Regions from separate parts of the Homo sapiens genome. Here regions 2, 3, 4 and 5 are each linked to region 1. Evidence: promoter capture Hi-C in 16 types of primary human blood cells and fetal thymus (Javierre and others, 2016). All regions are on one chromosome and are shown on one strand. Each heading gives the region's core, a stretch centred on a gene start or on the middle of the fragment in contact. The rest is flanking DNA. Distances are from core to core; before and after follow the strand shown.

Evidence for each region. Contacts are between HindIII fragments. The CHiCAGO score rates a contact against its expected background, and 5 or more counts as called.
Region 2: the fragment with the promoter of DNAH8 here is called in contact with the fragment with the promoter of CCDC167 in region 1 in 1 of 17 cell types (naive B cells); the score reaches 6.6 in naive B cells.
Region 3: the fragment with the promoter of BTBD9 here is called in contact with the fragment with the promoter of CCDC167 in region 1 in 1 of 17 cell types (total B cells); the score reaches 8.5 in total B cells.
Region 4: a fragment that was not itself captured here is called in contact with the fragment with the promoter of CCDC167 in region 1 in 1 of 17 cell types (total B cells); the score reaches 6.9 in total B cells.
Region 5: a fragment that was not itself captured here is called in contact with the fragment with the promoter of CCDC167 in region 1 in 2 of 17 cell types (total B cells and naive B cells); the score reaches 6.7 in total B cells.

Annotation. Positions count from the first base shown.
Region 1 is chr6:37,498,599-37,501,216 of GRCh38, reverse strand. It overlaps CCDC167 (coiled-coil domain containing 167), which reads left to right and starts at 1,324. Exons shown (of 4, transcript NM_138493.3): 1 at 1,324-1,395. The coding sequence starts at 1,354. RefSeq lists an enhancer at 1,132-1,331. The HindIII fragment of the contact is 3,379 bases long and covers 1-1,885 here.
Region 2 is chr6:38,714,061-38,716,678 of GRCh38, reverse strand. DNAH8 (dynein axonemal heavy chain 8) reads right to left here and starts at 1,368. Exons shown (of 93, transcript NM_001206927.2): 1 at 1,264-1,368. DNAH8-DT (DNAH8 divergent transcript) reads left to right here and starts at 1,464. Exons shown (of 2, transcript NR_186581.1): 1 at 1,464-1,613; 2 at 2,381-2,509. RefSeq lists a silencer at 1,332-1,381. The HindIII fragment of the contact is 3,077 bases long and covers 1-1,989 here.
Region 3 is chr6:38,638,620-38,641,237 of GRCh38, reverse strand. BTBD9 (BTB domain containing 9) reads left to right here and starts at 1,309. Exons shown (of 11, transcript NM_001099272.2): 1 at 1,309-1,438. It overlaps LOC105375044 (a long non-coding RNA gene), which reads right to left and starts at 843. Exons shown (of 3, transcript XR_926767.4): 1 at 754-843. RefSeq lists enhancers at 967-1,046, 847-1,347 and a silencer at 1,447-1,646. The HindIII fragment of the contact is 9,229 bases long and covers 266-2,618 here.
Region 4 is chr6:38,579,655-38,582,272 of GRCh38, reverse strand. BTBD9 (BTB domain containing 9) reads left to right here. Exons shown (of 11, transcript NM_001099272.2): 5 at 1,836-2,055. Among named protein-coding and RNA genes, the nearest start is that of BTBD9, 59 kb to the left of the region's middle. The HindIII fragment of the contact is 3,488 bases long and covers 1-2,618 here.
Region 5 is chr6:38,554,965-38,557,582 of GRCh38, reverse strand. All of the region lies in intron 6 of BTBD9 (BTB domain containing 9), which reads left to right. Among named protein-coding and RNA genes, the nearest start is that of BTBD9-AS1, 75 kb to the right of the region's middle. The HindIII fragment of the contact is 2,930 bases long and covers 1-2,618 here.

The DNA of each region.
Region 1 (2,618 bases), core at 75-2,574:
TGTCTAGCTAAAGGATTATAATGCACCAATAAGCACTCTGTGTCTACCTAGGGATTGTAAATGCACCAGTCAGTGCTCTGTAAAAACGCACCAATCAGCGCTCTGTGTCTAGCTAAAGGATTGTAAATGCACCAATCTGCACTCTGTAAAAATGCACCAATCAGCACTCTGTGTCTAGCTAAAGGACTGTAAATGCACCAATCAGCACTCTGTAAAATGGACCAGTCAGTGCTCTGTAACAGGGGACAAATAAGGGAATAAAAGCTGGCCATCCCCCAGTCAACAGTGGCAACCCACTCAGGTCCCCTTCCATGATGTGGGAGCTTTGTTCTTTTGCTCTTCACAATAAATCCTGCTGCTGCTCACTCTCTGGGTCCGTGCTACCTTTAAGAGCTGTAACACTCACCGTGAAGTCAGTGAGACCAAGAACCCACCTGAAGGAACCAACTCCAGACACAGGATTACAGGCCTGAGCCACCGTGCCCGACTTTGTTTTTTTTTAATTAAATAGGCAAGAATACAAAATAACAGAGTGCATTACAGGAGGTAAAGGTACTTACTGTGAAACTTTGGTTTTGGTTTCATGGGTAACTGGGCCATGGTATAAAATACATTTTTTTATCGTAGGGTCACAGTCAAAACATTTCAAAGGCCGTGGGTCTATGGTGTACAGTATAGTACGATTACAACAATGTAAAATACTGTGTGTGAGGCCAAGCCTGGGAGGAATAAACAGAAGCAAAGAGGAACTGATAAAGTTGGTAGAATAAAGGATGCTGCTTCTCAGTTATATGTTTTCTGTGATGTTTGTAGGTTGTTCTTACAATAAAACAAACCAAAAAAAAAAAAAAAAAGAAGTCAAGACACAAAGGAGAAATAACAATAGAGGGCCATTATCAGATTCCATTGGCCGAGAAGCTCAAGGCTCCAGCACCGGCCTTGAAGGATGGACAGACTTTGAATGGGGGGCGTGGCCTAAACAGGGACGGGGTTGTTGCTGAAACACAAAACACACTGAAAGAGAACATGGGGTTAAAAAAGGCTCTCAGTGATGCAAAGCGGCTTAAAACTGGGGAAGAAAGGGGCAGGTCTACTCCCGGGCTGTACATTCTGCCTCCCTGTACCGACTTTTCCACCCTCCACCCATCTAGGCTGAGGTCTCAAGCTAGAGGTTGCCCCTCATAAACATGTCCGCACCAAGCCGGCCGCGCCCCTCAACAAGATGGCGACGGCAGCAGCCCCACCTCCCGCTGACTCGGTGGCCAATGAGGGAGAAGCACGAAGACTTGAGCATGCGCACATAGCGACTTGGTGGGCGCGTCCAGTGATGACTGGGGGATCCCGGCAAGTAACATGACTAAAAAGAAGCGGGAGAATCTGGGCGTCGCTCTAGAGGTGAGGGGAAAAGTGGGGGTTGGGCCACCTCGTTAGTTGCCTTCTCCTGGCCGCGGGATAAGGGATAGGCTGGGCTATAGATAGGAGGAGGAGCCAAGCGTAGGATGAGAGGGCGACGCGGTTTGGGGAGAGGGACGGGAGGGGTGAGAAGGCCCACGGGGTTCCCGGAGGACAGGGAGCCCGAGGAGGTGCCGGATGGGCGAACCAGACTCTCTGGAGAGGGCATCTCCAGAGAGGAAGAGACATGGAAGTGAAGGGGAGCCCCAAAGACGGCCTGGCATAGAAGTGAGGGAACTCAAAGCGGGGGACACAGAACAAAAGGGATGGGTACAGAGGTGAGGGAGACCCCAGAGAAATAGGGACCTGTAGAATCTAAGGAGAACTCCCAAAGGGCTAGGACTCAAAGATGAGGGAGCCCATTCTGGTGTATATTATTAATGGTTTAAATATCCTCTAAAAGGGGAAATTTTTCCTCCGGAGTATGGAAGCTTGTACCTTCAAAATTACTTTGGGAATATGTAAAGAGAATTCTGGAATTGGTGATGTCACTGAATGGCTTAAAAATAATTTGCTGCATATAGAAGGGAAAGAAAACATACATACTGAGCAACCGCTATGTGCTACTTTCATTGCATTGTTAATCCTCACTGCAAGCCTGTGAGGTTTGTACAGATGAGGAAATTGAGGTTCCAGGTGGAACCCAGGCTGAGATGGTGGAAGTGGTGGAGCCTGGGAATCAAGCACAGGTGGTCTTCCTGGAAATTCATCTTGCTTCCCCTGTTTTCCTTCCCTTAGGGCATCCTCCCGGAGGTTGCAGGAGAGGTACAGGGTCATAGTCTTCTTCAGGCTTACTAGTGAGTTCAGTGATTCTCAAACTTTAGCATGCATAGAGTCACAGGGCTTGTTAAAAATGGAGAGTTGAACTCTTCCCACACCCCGAGTAATTCAGTAGGACTTTGATGTGCATTCTTAACAAGGAATCTGCTTTTTTTTTTTTAAGACAGAGTCTCGCTCTGTTGTCCAGGCTGAAGTGCAGTGGCGTGATCTCGGCTCACTGTAAACTCTGCCTTCTGGGTTCAAGCGATTCTCGTGCCTCAGCCTCCCGAGTAGCTGGGATTACAGGCACGTGCCACCATGCCTGGCTAATTTTTGTATTTTTGTAGAGACGGGGTTTCACCGTGTTGGCCAGGCTGGTCTTGAACTCTTGACCTCAAGTGATCTGC
Region 2 (2,618 bases), core at 119-2,618, 1.2 Mb before region 1:
AAGCAAAATGCACAATCAAATTGGTGTGACAGACTATTGAATACAACACAAGATGGTCAATGTCAATGACAGGTGAATTAACGAAGGGCTAAGAGAGCTTAGCAGGCAGCAAAACTTCTGAAAAACAAAAAAAGAAAGAAAGAAAACTTGACGGAGAAGGTACCACCCGAGTCGGGTCTAAAGAAGAGTTGTCAGGAGAGGATGGGAGAGAGAAACATTATAGGCAGAAGGTGGGAACAGTGGCGTACAAAAGCAGAGAAGCAAAAAGAGGCACAACTATCTTGGGAAAAGTGGTAAATTCAGTGATGAGACTTTTGGGCTAGAGGGGAATGAGAAGGGTAGAGGAACGGGAAATAAGCCGGAGGGAGAGGCATTTTTTTTGTTTTATTTTTGAATTTTTAAAAATATATAGGTATATGGCCGGGCGTGGTGGCTCATGCCTGTAATCCCAGCACTTTGGGAGGCCGAGGTGGGCGGATCACAAGGTCAGGAGATCGAGACCATCTTGGCTAACACTGTGAAACCCCGTCTCCACTGAAAATACCAAAAAAAATTAGCCGGGCGTGATGGCGGGTGCCTGTAGCCCCAGCTACTCGGGAGGCTGAGGCAGGAGAATGGCTTGAACCAGGGAGGCAGAAATTGCAGTGAGCCGAGATCGCACCACTGCACTCCAGCCTGGGCGGCAGAGTGAGACTCCGTCTCAAAAAAAAAAAAAAAATATATATATATATATATATATATATATATATATATTTATTTATTTATTTATTTATTTTAATAGCTTTTCGGGTACAGGTGGTTTTTTTACATGGATGCATTGGATAGTGGTGAAGTCTGAGACTTCAGGGTCATCCAGGTAGCATACATTGCAAGCGATATGTAGTTGTTTCATCCCTCACCCCCCTCCCACCCTTCCCCTTCTGAGTCTCCGAAGTCCACTATACCCCTCTGGATGCCTTTGCGTAGCAATAGCTTAGCTCCTACTCATAGGTGAGAACGTGCGGTATTTGGTTTTCTAGTCTCAAAACGGGGAGTGGGTGTGAAGTCACTTAGATGTCCAGTGTAGAGACTGACAAAGGGTAGTGACTCAGCTGGGGTTTTGAAGCAGGGGTTCCCTGGGTTCAACTAACAGAGGTGGAGGACTGAACTGTAGCGTGGATTCCAGTCCCCTAAAAAGAAGGAAAGTGGGCGGGGAACCCGGCTGCATCAGGGCCTCCCGGACAGGGGCCGGGCGCTCACAGCGCGCTCCGACCAAGTACTCACCAGCCGCTCTCTGGGCCCCGATGCCCCGACCACTCAGCCCACTGAGGCCGGCCCCAGCGGTTGCGCTGCCCCGGGGGAGCTGCTCCGGCCTCCGCGGCCCGGAACGAGGCTGACGGTTGGGAGTCCGAGACAGGCTCGCTCGGGGGCGAGGGCTCCGCAGTGCGCAGCTCCCTACGGGGAGCGACTGGAGGGGCACGGGCAGCCCCCGCGCTCCCCAATAAAGGATGCACCCACCGAGCCCGAGGACTGAAACATTGTTTAGGGGACCCCAGGCACTGAAGGGCGGGTTCCTGGAGATGGACATTTGGAGTGCGGTGCCAGGGGCTTGGGAGGATTCCCGCGTATACGTGGTAATACGGAAATATATAAAATAATGTTTTCTATGACCTTTACAGTTTCTGAAGTTACTTAGTGTTTTCCTTGAGAACCTAAAAAGTGTTTCCTGGTGAGTCAGTGTGTTCAGAAACCTGTGACTGATGAGAGAGAAAGATTCTGGGGGAAAACTGACTTCTCTCCCAAGTCCACCCCCTCCCCTCTCTAGTACGGTTCTGCTTTTGCTGTGACTGCCTGACATGATGTGAGCGGTCCGTTTTTAGTTGGGTGTGTTAACCAAAGAAAAAAAAATCAGTCATTTAAATAATTAATATTAGTTTTATTCAGATGTCTTACTAAGGATTGCAATCCGGAGAGTCTTTCAGAGACTTTCTGTGAGACTGCTCCAAAGCTTAGGTACAGGTGGTGGCATGTGATGGGAAGTGGCATCAGATGTGCTCAGCAGTTACATCAAATGAGCTCAGCAGTTACATTAGAGCAAAATCTCATCAAGGGTGGGGTTCAAGGGTACATCTGGTTATAGATTGTAGAGGCATAATCATTAATCCTATCAGCTATTATCTTATTATGTACAGGAAGAGGCATGAGTTAGGATCCTGGAACTTTTGCAAGAAAAGATTCATGCAAGAGATGTTATCATCTTCAGGGGCATTCTTCCAGGGGCTGCACTTAGTCACTGAGTTAGGGGATTTGTGAAATGTAGCTGCCAAAGAATTCTCTGACATTCTGCTGGCAAGCAGAATGAGCAAATATAGCTTCTTACATAAACTATTTTGTCTTACAGGTGTGAAAGTCAGTCTTTGAATGTAGAGCAGATCAATGTGGAATGAGGACTGAAAGGTCTGTCAACTGAAAAAAAAAACAAGAATGAATATAAAAAATCACAAATTAAATAAACCATGGTCCATCCATATTAATAGACATTACTCAGTGATTATACAATATAAGCTTATGGGAGCAAGGGAGTTCCTGAATATCCTTGCTGACTGTGCCGAAATGCAAGACCTACCTACCCTCTAACT
Region 3 (2,618 bases), core at 60-2,559, 1.1 Mb before region 1:
GCTTGCCATCTTGCTAAATGTTACCACTGTCTACCTCAGCACTCATGCTAGAAACCTGGCCTACTCATTTATCCGCACTCAGTGCTGTGAATTCTACCACCTTAATGGCGCTAACATCTATCCCCTCCTCTATTCCCACTGCCAATGCCTTGTTTAATGTTCTTATCACTTGTCTGGAGTACTGCAATGGCCTAAAAATGGGTCTCCCTGCCCCAAGCCTTGCTTTTCCTGACCATTTTCACTTTCTACTTTTACTCATGAAGCTTCCTTTGCCCGGAATTAAGTCCTTCCCAATTTGTCTCCTCCAACAACTGCAAGGGCGGTCCCCTAGCTTGCTCCAGCGTCGGGGATAACTGACTTTCCTACACCAGCTACAGTCAGACCTGCACCCGGATTTCTAGGACTCTTATCTATGTAGATAGATAAATACATTTTTTTGAGACAGTGTCTTGCTCTCACTGCAGAGGCTGGAGTGCAGCGGCGCGATCACGGTTCACTGCAATCTTGAACTCCCCAGGTTCAAGCGATCCTCCCACCTCAGCCCCCCGAGCATTTGTGACTACAGGCGCGCGCCAACATGCCCATTTAGTTTTTGTCTTTTTTGTAGAGACGGGGTTTCACTATGTTACCCAGGCTGGTGTCGAACTCCTGAGCTCAAGCGATCCGCCCACCTCGGCCTCCCAAAGTGCTGGGATTACAGGCTTGAGCCACCAAGTCAAATGGGCTTTATACTTACAAAGTACCTTTGCATACCTTATTTCATTTTCACCTCACAATTCTCCAGCGTAGGCTGGACCGGTATTATTATGCCCATTTACTGAGAGAGGAAACTGAGAGTCAAGGCTGGGCCAGTCACACCCTGCTGCGAAATTAACGAGCATCACTTAGCAGCCTCGACATTAACCGCGCTCGCGCTCTCATCCCTTTCTGGTCCTACTCCTTGGAGAACCTTCCTGCACCTCCAAGAACTTGCCGATCGGGTCTGCGGCGGTCTGGACGAGGTCACTCCACAGGCGCCCAGGACCTTCTCATCCGTAGTGACGTGCGCCGGTGACGCCATACAGTGACGTGTGGTGACTCGACTTACCCGGAGCCAGGTGCCGGCAGGGCAGCCACACCCTGGGGCCCCCTGTTCTGGAGGGGCAGAGGGTCGGGCCGATGCGAAAAAGCCGCGGAAGCTGCCTTAGGCGACTTTCTGGGCCTGCATCGCCGGACCCAGCAGCCCGCTGTCGATCGGTTGCTAAGTGACGCCAGCGCGCAGTGGCGCGTGCGCGGCCACGGCGGAGTGCGTGAAAGCGGACGCGCGCCGCAGCAGCCGGGGCGGCGGCGAGGACGGCGGCCACGGAAGCGGCCAAGGGGGCGGTGGCGCAGAGAGGGGTGCGGAGCGGGCGGAAGAGGCGTCTGTGTCGCAGCTTGGTCTCAGAGGAGCATCGCTGGGGTGAGTAGCCGGGTCCTTGCAGGGGAGGTGGGGCCTGGCCGCACCTGCGGCGCGGGGACGCGCGCCCCCGCCGTATCCGCGCGCACCGCCCCCCGCCCCTCCGCCGCTTTTTCCGGGGGCGGGGGAGGAGCTGGGACGGGGCCTGACGAGGGTCATTTCTTGGGCCCGGGTGCTCTGGGAGAGCGGTAGCCGTCCCGTTCGCAGTCCACGAAGGTGTAGTGGGAAGTAGACGTTTCGGGGATTCGGGGTGGCTCTACCAGCCTCCCAAAGAGAGGAGTTCGAATCAGGGGCAGCCCAGGTTCCCTAGCAGTCTCGTATCCTGTCTGAGACGACGTTGCCTGGGACTGAGGAGGCGAAACCCGGGACCCCGGGGTGGGGGTTTGGAAAGTTTGGGACTGCTGGGGCCCTCATCTCCCCTGCCCTGGCCAGCCTCTGAGTAGGAGCTGGTTGTTATGGAGAGAGTTGTGAATCAGTGCCTGCGTGCGGCATCAGACACACCCACGACCTTGGGAGGGCGACCTGTCAGTATAGATCCGGGGCAGCCAACCTGTTGCCTAGAGTTTCTAACTTCACATGTATGTGCATGTGTTTCCTTGGCGTTTTAGTACATTGTTGTTACAGATTTTGAGACCAAGGTGCTGATAGGCATCCTCATTTCTTACTTCCTCATAGACTTAGTTATCTTGCTATATTTCCCAGAACCGTGTTGTGCTTTTGTCATTAGTAGATCCAAGGAAGTATGGAAGCATGTTTTGTTTGTTTTTCCTAAAGGCAGTACAGGCTGCTATTTTCTGGGCAGAAAATACGGATTCTGTTCACTGTGTGGGCGGAAAGTGTTGATGATGGGAGAACCCAGCATGTAAAGGTGTAGCTCATCCTCAGCCCTGTGCTGTCTTCTCAGTGCTCTGGACTCTATCATGGGTAGATGTATAGGGGTTGTGGTTACCATACTTGGGAGCGAGGAATATTGGAGACAGGGAAGAAGCCAGTCTTTTCTTTCTGTTGATTAAGGCAATTTGTAGAACCAGTGAAAAGATAGGCTGTACTGAAATCTAATGTTTTGTGTAAGAGGATAGAGGAAAATAAGTTCAAGGTTCTCATTTAGGTCTAAAATTCTATGATTCTGTTTCATAACTGAGAATCTGTAAAGTATGTTACCTCTTGGAACCAGTAATAACCT
Region 4 (2,618 bases), core at 66-2,565, 1.1 Mb before region 1:
CACACGCTAATAGAATTTAGAAAGTTATAAATCGATAGCACTTAAACTTCTGATGGTAAGAAGTTAAGCATAACTAGGATGTTTTGTTTATTTTTGCTGGGTTGCTACAGTCTTTTGCTTCCATTTTAAACTTCCATTTTTCAGCTGCAATATATTGTTCTTTTCTGGTGCCACTCTCTTTACTCATCTTCATTTGAAATTAAAAAAAATTTTTCCAGAAATCTGCAATGATGAATTACTATCTTTTTGCCAATAACCTGATTATAGCCCAGACTTTCCCGTATTCAAATCACACAACCAAAATGTATGTGTACTGTGAGAATTCGGTATTTTTTTACAGTCTGTAAACATACATAGTTCTCTTATCGTGTGCTTTTTAATATGTTTTCTTAATAGTAATGGCTGTATATTTTGAAAATATATGTATATATGAGTAGAGCTCATAATATGCTTTACAAACATCATCTCATTTAATTCTTAAACAGAAACACCTGGGGGATAGATATGGTCTCCCCCCCACCCCATTGAGAAATGGAAGTTGAGAGAGGGAAACTTCTTCAAAGTGATGCACCTGGCTAAATGTGGAGCCACTGTTTAATCTCTGACTCTTCAAGCTCTTAATATCTTTCTGCAGCCTCTTGTCTTTCCATGGAGAGTGTCAGTTTTAGAATGTTAGTACCTGGAAGATAGGTTCCACATCTGTGAAGCATAATTTACACGGAGGACTTCAGAGTCCCAGGCACAATTGGTGGTTAATAAATCTAATGTTGGTGAGGGGAGGGGATTTAATAATAACCATAATACTGATTTTGATGACAGACTATCAATTTTCATTTTTAAAAATTCTCAAGTGCAGAAAAAAGATATCTTTTTTAAACGATCTTGTTTTATAAGCTAGATTAATTAATTTCAGCATATTCATATATAACTAACAGCTATGCTATATTGGAACCTTTCTTTTTCTGTTGTTTTAACAGATTTCTGACCTGTTTGCTTTGCTTTTATACATTGTCCTCAGTCCAGATGGCAGGTACAGGTCATCTTACATGCTATTTTTGTTTAGTAGATTTTTTTGTTGTTGAGACGGAGATTTACTCTTGTTGCCCAGGCTAGAGTGCAATGGCGCGATCTCAGCTCATCGCATCCTCTGCCTCCCAGGTTCAAGTGATTCTCCTGCCTCAGCCTCCCGAGTAGCTGGGATTATAGGCATGTGCCACCACGCCTGGCTAATTTTGTATTGTTAGTTGAGACGGGGTTTTACTGTGTTGCCCAGGCTGATCTCGAACTCCTGACCTCAGGTGATCCGCCCACCTCGGCCTCCCAAAGTGCTGGGATTACAGGCATGAGCCACTGCACCCCGCCTGTTTAGTAGATATTAAAGTTACTAGTAGAATGAACTCAGCAGAGCTGATTTGTTTGTCCTAGTACATGCCTTTTCTAGTTTTATTAACTTTTGAAAAATAACATTAGTCTCAAGCACTTTGTGGTTGTGATACTAATATTACATTTAAACTCTGAACATTTTTTTTGTTTGTTTTTAATAGGGACAGGGTCTTCCCATGTTGCCCATGCTGGTCTCAAACTCCTGGGCTCAAGTGATCCACCTGCCTCGGCCTCCCAAAGTGCTGGGATTACAGGCATGAGCCACTGCACCCGGCCTCTGAATGGTGTCTTAATCCTCATAGATGTTCTGTATTTTCTATCCAATAAACTTGTCTATGCTGTTCTTAAATGCAGATACTAGAATAAACTGGAATGCTAGAATTGTATTTTTTTCAAAAAATACAGAATAAATAAGTAATCATTAACCTTGCTTTTTCTATTTTTAACTGTAGTACCAGAAGAAAACATTGCAACTATGAAGTATGGAGCCCAAGTTGTAAAGGGGGAGCTGAAATCAGCCTTATTAGATGGTGATACTCAAAATTATGATTTGGATCATGGATTTTCAAGGCACCCAATTGATGATGACTGCCGTTCCGGCATCGAGATTAAGCTAGGTCAGCCATCCATTATCAATCACATACGGATACTCTTGTGGGACCGAGATAGCCGGTAAGTGATTAGCATGACTTAGAAACTGACATTATGTTTGAGATGACTTAGCTTTGTGGTCATCTACTTTTGTTTTACAGATATGATGGTTTATTTCTTTGTGATCATTCTGCTATCTCTTGAAGGTTGGTTTTGGGGAAGGAGTTAAAGGATATATTTCTTTAAAAGAAATACACTTTTTTGTTTGTTTCTTCTTATAAAAATATGTGTTTATTGTAGAAACCATAGAAAATATAGAAGAGCACATAGAAGAAAATAAAAATTGCTAGTAATCTCATTACCCATTATTAATCTTCATATGTATCTAGCATTTTTTTCAATTATGCATGGACACATACACACACAAAACAGAAACCTGCACAAACATAGTTTTATAAAATGAAGATTAGATATACAAAAAGCTAATTTTACTTTTAAATTAATACATTGTGAACACTCTACCCTTTAAAAAATATTCCTCTAAAATGTATTTTTAATAGTCGTTTTGTATTCTACCATGAGTTAACATTATTTACTTGATTCATTGGTTTTGAATATTATAACCTTTTAAATGCATTTTACCA
Region 5 (2,618 bases), core at 75-2,574, 1.1 Mb before region 1:
AGATATGGTTTATAACATAGGTAAGGCCCACAATTTTCCAGACACTGAGTATTTCATTTGGTCTTACCCAGGAAATAAGTATTATTGTCCAACTATTGTATTTCACAAATGAGGAAACTGAGGCTTAGAGAGCATATTGAACTTATAATCACACAGCTAGAACATAACCGCTGGGACTGAAGCTGAGGTCTGTCTGACTCTAAAGGTCTTTTTATTATTTATTTATTTATTTATTTTGAGACTGAGTCTTGCTCTTGTCGCCCAGGCTGGAGTGCAATGGCACGATCTTGGCTCACTGCAGCCTCTGCCTCCGGGGTGAAGTGATTCTCCTGCCTCAGCCTCCTGAGTAGCTGGGATTGCAGGCGCCTGCCACCACTGCCAGCTAATTATTGTATTTTTAGTAGAGACGGGGTTTTGCCATGTTGGCCAGACTGTTCTCAAACTCCCAATCTCATGATCTGCCCACCGTGGCCTCCCAAAGTGCTGGGATTACAGATGTGAGGATGTGAGCCACCGTGCCTGGCCCTTTTTTTTTTTTTTTTTTTTTTTTTTTTTTTTTTTTTTTTTGGTGAGATGGAGTCTCGCTCTGTTCCCCAAGCTGGAGTGCAATGGCCCGATCTCGGGTCACTGCAACCACCACCTCCCAGGTTCTAGCGATTCTCTTGCCTCAGCCTCCCAAGTAGCTGGAATTACAGGCGCCACTACATCTGGCTAATTTTTGTATTTTTAGTAGAGACGGGTTTTCACCATGTTGGTCAGGCTGATCTCGAACTCCTGACCTCAGGTGATCCACCCGCCTCGGCCTCCTAAAGTGCTGGGATTACAGGCATGATCCACCGCGCCCGGCCGAAGGTCTTTTTAAACACACAGTGCTGTCTTTTTCATCTCTGTTTATCATCTTGTGGTATTATCTTTTTTTGTGTGTGAGGCTTCAAAGATTAAAAAAAAATGTTTTATTTTGGACTTTGGATTCTGAAGTAATAACTTTTACTCCTGGGTGATCAAATCTCTCTCTCTCTCTCTCTCTCTCTCACACACACACACACACACACACACACACACACACACACACACACTTTATAGGACAAAGATAATATCCATATGCTTGCTATATATCTCTTAATCTTCTAAAAGCATTTGCCATTTGACTTTCCAGACCCCTTAGTAGGTCTGGAATCTGGCAGTTGTCAGATATACATTTGAATGCTTAAATTAATAAATCAAGATTTTAATTTTGCTGTTATAGTTAGTGAATGGTGCCAGATTGAAATCATTTTCATGATCAAATAGTGGGATGCATACTAGTTATCATTTTATTTAGTCTATTTATACTATGATGATAGGCCATGCAGACAGGAAACATTAAAATGTAGAATGTTAGGATGTACCTTGGGATGTGCTTCTAGTTCCCTGAGAAACCTTTCTAGTTCCCAAAGACAGGCATTTCCATGATGACTGTGGCCTTTCGTATATGATGCCCTTGTTAGCTGAATATTCATTACCTCGAGCCTTGCAGTTTTGAAGGTTGCATAGGGAAACAGAAGTAATCATAGTATAAAAATGTTCACTAATGAACTGTCCACGTGTAAAATTAGTTCCCACTCAAACATTCATCCCTGTGAATTCTATTCCTGCCCATCCCATTAGTTATAGTGTTTTACTGATTGTTCGGAAGATGTAAAATCAGTGTACTCAATTGCAAAGTCAGATGGCAGATTTTGCAAAAATACAAGAAATAAAGATTTCATGAAATAGAGAAAAGTGAGGTTGAAAAGCTGCCAGACTGACATACGAAGCCATTGGCAAATAAAATTCTGGCAGCATGAGACCAGTGAATAATTGAGAAAGAGAAAATCCACCAAAATGATGACATGGTAAGCATTTCAAAAGAAGAATCTGACAATTAAAAATTAAAGGAATGTTGGTGATGTCCAGGTATTTTTGGAAGAATATTCTTCACTGTAATTGTGCTGGGGAAGTTAGGAAATGCTAGAAAAACTAAAAGATATCTAACAACTGTTTATCACTACTACTGCTACTACTACTATTTTGGTTAGCACATAGTTGCATTTATTACATACGTTTTGTTAAGTAGAAGATTAAATATATACTTACATTTAATCTCAATTTTTAATGTAATGAAACCCCTTTTCCACATTCACTATGGAATTTTGGTCGTTATTTCAAGTGAATTCACTTTAAATGTCCTTTTTCAGGTAATTGTTGTTCTGGAATAATGAGAACCTCCTGTAATGGGTTATATACTTGTCTTTATGTGTCTGTGTGTCTTCCCTCTCCAGTTTTGCTGGTAACGAACAGCAGCAACAAACACAGGCAAGGAGAGTTAGAGATGGGGTGAGTCATCCTTAGTAAAATTGTCTTTTAACCAGTGAGGCAAAGAAACAGAACCTTGATGAGCAATAATCTATTCTAGAAGAGTAGCTAATCAGCAGATTATACTTTTATCTTGGAGAAAGGACTGCAGGTCACTCATTAAATCAAAAGGCATTACATAAATAAAGATTTCCAGTTTGGGGGTACTGGAGGGGACTGTAGCAATATTGTTTTTGAAGTCTTTGTTTCTCTTTAGTAGCATCACCCATAGCTTTGATGTTACT